2 separate regions of the Homo sapiens genome follow, and region 2 is linked to region 1. Evidence: promoter capture Hi-C in human tissues and cell types (Jung and others, 2019). All regions are on one chromosome and are shown on one strand. Each heading gives the region's core, a stretch centred on a gene start or on the middle of the fragment in contact. The rest is flanking DNA. Distances are from core to core; before and after follow the strand shown. Region 1 holds the start of HIPK4 (homeodomain interacting protein kinase 4). Region 2 has its middle 44 kb from the start of NUMBL.

The links. Contacts are between HindIII fragments. The study calls those that stand out against the background at their distance.
Region 2: a fragment that was not itself captured here is called in contact with the fragment with the promoter of HIPK4 in region 1 in 2 of the 25 tissues and cell types used here (dorsolateral prefrontal cortex and liver).

Annotation. Positions count from the first base shown.
Region 1 is chr19:40,388,886-40,392,036 of GRCh38, reverse strand. It overlaps HIPK4 (homeodomain interacting protein kinase 4), which reads left to right and starts at 1,856. Exons shown (of 4, transcript NM_144685.5): 1 at 1,856-2,599. The coding sequence starts at 2,135. RefSeq lists enhancers at 1,404-1,953, 1,954-2,503. The HindIII fragment of the contact is 19,093 bases long and covers 1-3,151 here.
Region 2 is chr19:40,645,024-40,648,173 of GRCh38, reverse strand. No RefSeq gene overlaps it. Among named protein-coding and RNA genes, the nearest start is that of NUMBL, 44 kb to the left of the region's middle. RefSeq lists an enhancer at 1-690. The HindIII fragment of the contact is 9,795 bases long and covers 1-3,150 here.

The DNA.
Region 1 (3,151 bases), core at 607-3,106:
ATCTTGGCTCACAGCAACCTCCGCCTTCCAGGTTCAAGCGATTCTCATACCTCAGCCTCCCGATCTCAGCCTCCCAAGTAGCTGGAACTACAGGTGTATACCACCATGCCCAGCTAATTTTTGTATTTTTAGTGGAGTTGAGGTTTTGTCATGTTGGCAAGGCTGGTCTCAAACTCCTGACCTCAGGTGATCCGCCCACCTTGGCCTCTCAAAGTGCTGGGATTACAGGCGTAAGCCACCACTCCTGGCCAGGCACTTTAAAAACTTCTTTGTGCCTTGATTTTCTCTTCCATAAAATCCCTACTTTGTATGTTGTAAGGATCAGATAAGACTTCTAAAGAACTTCATCCTTGTTTAAATGTTTTGATGTTACATTTTCTTTTACTTTTTTTTTTTTTTTTGAGACGGAGTTTCACTCTTGTTGCCCAGGCTGGAGTGCAATGGCGCAATCTTGGCTCACTGCAACCCCACCTCCCGCGTTCAAGCAGTTCTCATACCTCAGCCTGCCGACCTCAGCCTCTTGAGTAGCTGGGACTACAGGCATGTGCTAACACACCCGGCTAATTTTGTATTTTTAGTAGAGACGGGGTTTCTCCATGTTGGTCAGGCTGGTCTCGAACTCCCGACCTCAGGTGATCCACCTGCCTCAGCCTCCCAAAGTGCTGGGATTACAGGCATGAGCCACCGAGCCCGGCCCGCTGTTAAATATTCTAATCTGGCTGGAGTGGTGGCTCATGTCTACAATCCCAGCACTTTGGAAGGTTGAGGCAGGAGGATCACTTGAGGCCAGGAGGATCACTTGAGACCAGCCTGGACAACATAGTGAGACCCCATTTCTACAAAAAATTAAAAAGATAAATAAAAATGAACACTTTTTTTTTTTTTTTGAGATGGAGTCTCGCTCTGTCACCCAGGCTGGAGTGCAGTGGTGCAATCTCGGCTCACTGCAACCTCCACCTCCCGGGTTCAAGCTATTCTTCTGCCTTAGCCTCCCGAGTAGCTGGGACTACAGGCGCCCTCCACTATGCCTGGCTAATTTTTAGTATTTTTAGTAGAGACAGAGTTTCACCGTGTTAGCCAGGATGGTCTCGATCTCCTGACCTTATGATCTGCCTTCCTTGGCCTCCCAAAGTGCTGGGATTACAGGCGTGACCCACCGCACCCAGCCAAAAATAAATACATTTTCTAATTTGGCCTCAACATCTCCCCCAAGCTGCTTCTTATCCATGTCCATTTCTCGGGGACTGCCCCTTCATCCCAGAGCCCTAGGCCCGTTCTTAGACAGCTCCCGCCTTTCCCTCAAACCGTCGGTCTCACGGCTGCTTCTCCTGGCCTTTTGAGTGTCTCATCCATTGGCCTCGCCCTCTCCTCCCCAACCTCTCCCATCTGTGCCCTGTCCTGGACTCTTTCCCTGGCTTGGGGCTTCCACTCTTACCCGCTCCAACCTATCCCTTTTCATACAGTAACTTTCTGACACTCATATCTGACCCTGCCCTCCCCTGCTCAAAGCCCTTCTGTGGCTCCCCAGTGCCCTCAGAACAGAATCCAAACTCCTTAGCCTGGCATTCAGGGCCTTTTACAACCTCACCCCACAGTAGCCACAGACTGGGACAGGAGTTTTCTGAACACAGACACACACACATCACATCTCCCAAGCTCAAGAAGCCCACCTTTCCTCACTCCTGCCTTATCCCCATTCCTGTATGCCCAAGGCCCACGATTAGACCCCCCTCTGTCAACACTTCACCTGTTTGGTCTTTGCAAGATTCCGCCACTGGGCGGGGGAGGGGGCCCAGCCTGGTACCCCACCCCCACTCCAGCCAGGGCTCAGGTCTCCAACAACAGAACCAGAGCCACTCAACAGCGCTGGAACCCATTCGGTGGGGCCTGGGGCCCCTCATCCCAAGCCAGGAGGGTTTCTGGGGAGGGGTGCAGCCCCTGGCAGACTGACAGTGTGGCCTGGGGGTTTGGGGGTGCCAGGGAAGCAGGGGCCAACCTCATAGGAGGAGACACGAGTGCGGTTCTCTTTCCCCCACTGGGGGGCCTGCTGTGTCAGCAGCCAGGCGGGAGGCCTGGGCGGCAGAGCCAGTGGTACAGGGGCCTGGGCAGGGCGGTGTCTGGCAGCAGCGGCACCATGTCCACCATCCAGTCGGAGACTGACTGCTACGACATCATCGAGGTCTTGGGCAAGGGGACCTTCGGGGAGGTAGCCAAGGGCTGGCGGCGGAGCACGGGCGAGATGGTGGCCATCAAGATCCTCAAGAATGACGCCTACCGCAACCGCATCATCAAGAACGAGCTGAAGCTGCTGCACTGCATGCGAGGCCTAGACCCTGAAGAGGCCCACGTCATCCGCTTCCTTGAGTTCTTCCATGACGCCCTCAAGTTCTACCTGGTCTTTGAGCTGCTGGAGCAAAACCTTTTCGAGTTCCAGAAGGAGAACAACTTCGCGCCCCTCCCCGCCCGCCACATCCGTACAGTCACCCTGCAGGTGCTCACAGCCCTGGCCCGGCTCAAGGAGCTGGCTATCATCCACGCTGATCTCAAGCCTGAGAACATCATGCTGGTGGACCAGACCCGCTGCCCCTTCAGGGTCAAGGTGAGTAGGGGTCGTCTAGGGTGGCTGCGTCCCTAGTTCCTTGTCTTTTTCCCAGCTTCTTCCAGCCCTAGATTTTTTTTTTAATTTTTTAAAATTATTATTATTATTATTTTTGAGACGGAGTTTCATTCTGTTACCCAGGCTTGAGTGCAGTGGCACAATCTCAGCTCACTGCAACTCCGCCTCCTGGGTTCAAGTGATTATCCTGCCTCAGCCTCCCGAGTTGCTGGGATTACAGGGATGCGCCACCACGCCCAGCTAATTTTTTTTTTGTACTTATCAGAGACGGGGTGATGATGGCATGATCTTGGTTCACTGCCTCCGCCTCCCGGGTTCAAGCGATTCTCCTGCCTCAGCCTCCTGAGTAGCTGGGAATACAGGTGCCCGCCACCCATGCCCGGCTAATTTTTGTATTTTTAGTAGAGATGGAGTTTCGCCATGTTGGCCAGGCTGGTCTCAAACTCCTGACCTTGTGATCCACCTGCCTCAGCCTCCCAAAGTGCTGGGATTACAGGCGTGAGCCACCACGCCCAGCCAATTTTTGTGTTTTTT
Region 2 (3,150 bases), core at 129-2,628, 260 kb before region 1:
CCCCTCTGCCCGGCCAGCCGCCCCGTCCGGGAGGGAGGTGGGGGGGTCGGCCCCCCGCCCGGCCAGCCGCCCCGTCCGGGAGGTCAGGGGCGCCTCTGCCCGGCCGCCCCTACTGGGAAGTGAGGAGCCCCTCTGCCCGGCCAGCCGCCCCGTCCGGGAGGGAGGTGGGGGGGTCGGCCCCCCGCCCGGCCAGCCGCCCCGTCCGGGAGGTGAGGGGCGCCTCTGCCCGGCCGCCCCTACTGGGAAGTGAGGAGCCCCTCTGCCCGGCCACCACCCCGTCTGGGAGGTGTACTCAACAGCTCATTGAGAACGGGCCATGATGACAATGGCAGTTTTGTGGAATAGAAAATGGGGAAAGGTGGAGAAAAGATTGAGAAATCGGATGGTTGCTGTGTCTGTGTAGGAAGAGGTAGACATGGGAGACTTTTCATTTTGTTCTGTACTAAGAAAAATTCTTCTGCCTTGGGATCCTGTTGATCTGTGACCTTGCCCCCAACCCTGTGCTCTCTGAAACATGTGCTGTGTCCACTCAGGGTTGAATGGATTAAGGGCGGTGCAAGATGTGCTTTGTTAAACAGATGCTTGAAGGCAGCATGCTCGTTAAGAGTCATCACCACTCCCTAATCTCAAGTACCCAGGGACACAAACACTGCGGAAGGCCGCAGGGTCCTCTGCCTAGGAAAACCAGAGACCTTTGTTCACTTGTTTATCTGCTGACCTTCCCTCCACTATTGTCCTGTGACCCTGCCAAATCCCCCTCTGCGAGAAACACCCAAGAATGATTAAAAAAATAATAAATAAAAAAATAAAAATACAAAAATTAGCTGGGCGTGGTGGCACATACCTATAGTCCCAGCTACTCGGGAGGCTAAGGCAGGAGAATCACTTGAATTCCGGGGAATTGGAGGTTGCCGCAGTGAGCCAAGATTGTGCCACTGCACTCCAGCCTGGGCAACAGAACCAGACTACGTCAAAAAAAAAAAAAAAAAAGAGAGAGAGAAAGAAAGAGAGAGAAAAGAAAGAAAAAAAGAAAGAAGAAAGAAAGAAGGAAAGAAAGAAAAGAAAGTCCTTGGTGACATGGCTGAGCCATTGTGTCAACTTTGGCTGAAGCCAGCACAAGTGTGGATTTTCCAGCCACAGATTCCCCTTACAATTTAAGCCATTTGAGTCAGCTGTTCTGGTACTTGCATCTAGGCGAATCATCAAATATTTTACAAGCAGTCCAGGTGCAGTGGCTCACACCTTAATCCCAGTACATTGGGAGGCCAAGGCAGGAGGATCGCTTGAGTTCCATAGTGAGAATTTGTCTCCAAAAAAAAAAAAAAGAAAAGAAAAAATGAATTTCACAACCAATACTTTGGGCACTGACCGAGCAGCATGGTTCACTTCTGTGCCCGATATTGACCCTTTACTTCCTGCATTGTGGAGAGGTCTGGGAAGTCCTGGGAGAGGGACCAGGGCAGCTAGAGTGGCCTTGGTGGAGGACGTCATTGGAGCGACTTGAGACAGAATGATTTACCAACCAATACGGAAATAATTCAGTATTTCAACAATCAACATAGCCTAGATATACCCCAACAACATGCTCCGCAGACAGCTAGTCCAAGCTGAATATGAGCTTTACTTGCTGAAGGATACAACACCCCCCGCCCTTTTTTTGTTTGTTTGTTTGTTATTGAGACGGAGTCTCGCACTGTCGCCCGGGCTGGAGTGCAGTGGCGCGATCTCGGCTCACTGCAACCTCCGCCTCCCGCGTTCAAGCGATTCTCTTGCCCTTTTGACGTGAGCTAGTGTGAATGGATTTCTGTTTCTTGCAACCAAGCACATACAGAAGAAAAAAAAAAAAAAGATCCCCTGACAAGCCTGAGTCATGAATCAAACGTTCAGGAAATAAATAGCAGTCCAATCTCACTTTAACCGTATGAGGTCATCTTAGCTTCGGGTCAGGCTGAAACTCTGCCGAGATTTTTGACCATGAGCTCTGCCAAAGGGTCCGCACCCTTTGGCCCAAGAATCCCTCCTCTGGGACACACAAGGAGGTCCATGAGGGGATTATTTATAATGGGAGGAAATTGGAAACAGCTTCAACCTCTGGCAATGCTGCCCTTTTGAATAAACATAGTGCAAACATTAGAGATTGTGTTTATCCAAAGATGTTTTAACAGGGGAACAGCTTACATTTTAAGAGGGGAAAAAACAGGGCTGTATAAACAATTTGCTCACACAGTTATGTAAAACACACACGTGCACACACACAACACACGCATTTAAAAAGCTCACAGAGAATAGAAAAGGCTGAAAGGAAATATATCAAAATGTCAACAACCATAGTGGTACAGGACTTAGGGATGGGAGGGGCGTCTTTGCCTTGCTAGTTCTCTGTAGTTTCCAAATGTTGCTTGATGAACGCCAAACTCTCCTTTTTTTTTTTTTTTTTTTTTTTTTTTTTTTTTTGAGATAGAGCCTCGCTCTATACCCCAGGCTGGAGTGCAGTGGCACGATCTCGGCTCACTGCAACCTCCGTCTCCCGGGTTCAAGCGATTCTCATGCCTCAGCTCCCGAGTAGCTGTGATTACAGGTGCCTGCCACCACGCTTGGCTAATTTTTCTTTTTCTTTTTCTTTTTTTTTTTTTTGAGAAGGAGTCTCGCCCTGTCCCCCAGGTTGGAGTGCAGTGGCGCAATCTCGGCTCGCTGCAACCTCTGCCTCCCAGGTTCAAGCAATTCTCTGCCTCAGCCTCCCAAGTTGCTGGAATTTACAGGCGCCCACCACAACACCTGGCTAATTTTCGTATTTTTAGTAGAGACGGGGTTTCACCATCTTGGCCAGGCTGGTCTTGAACTCCTGACCTTGTGATCCACCCACCTCAGCCTCCCAAAGTGCTGCTGGGATTACAGGCATGAGCCACCGCACCCAGCCTGATTCTTGTATTTTTGGTAGAGACAGTGTTTTGTCATGTCGGCCAGGCTGATCTTGAACTTCTGACCTCAGGTGATCCACCTGCCTTGGCCTCCCAAAGTGCTGGGATTATAAACGCGAGCCATTGCACCCGGCCCAAACTCTCCTTCAATAAATTTTATTTTCAGTTTTTAAACTCTTATATCATGAAAATTTTCAAACAGACACAAAAAGTCAAGAGACAATAAGCTTAC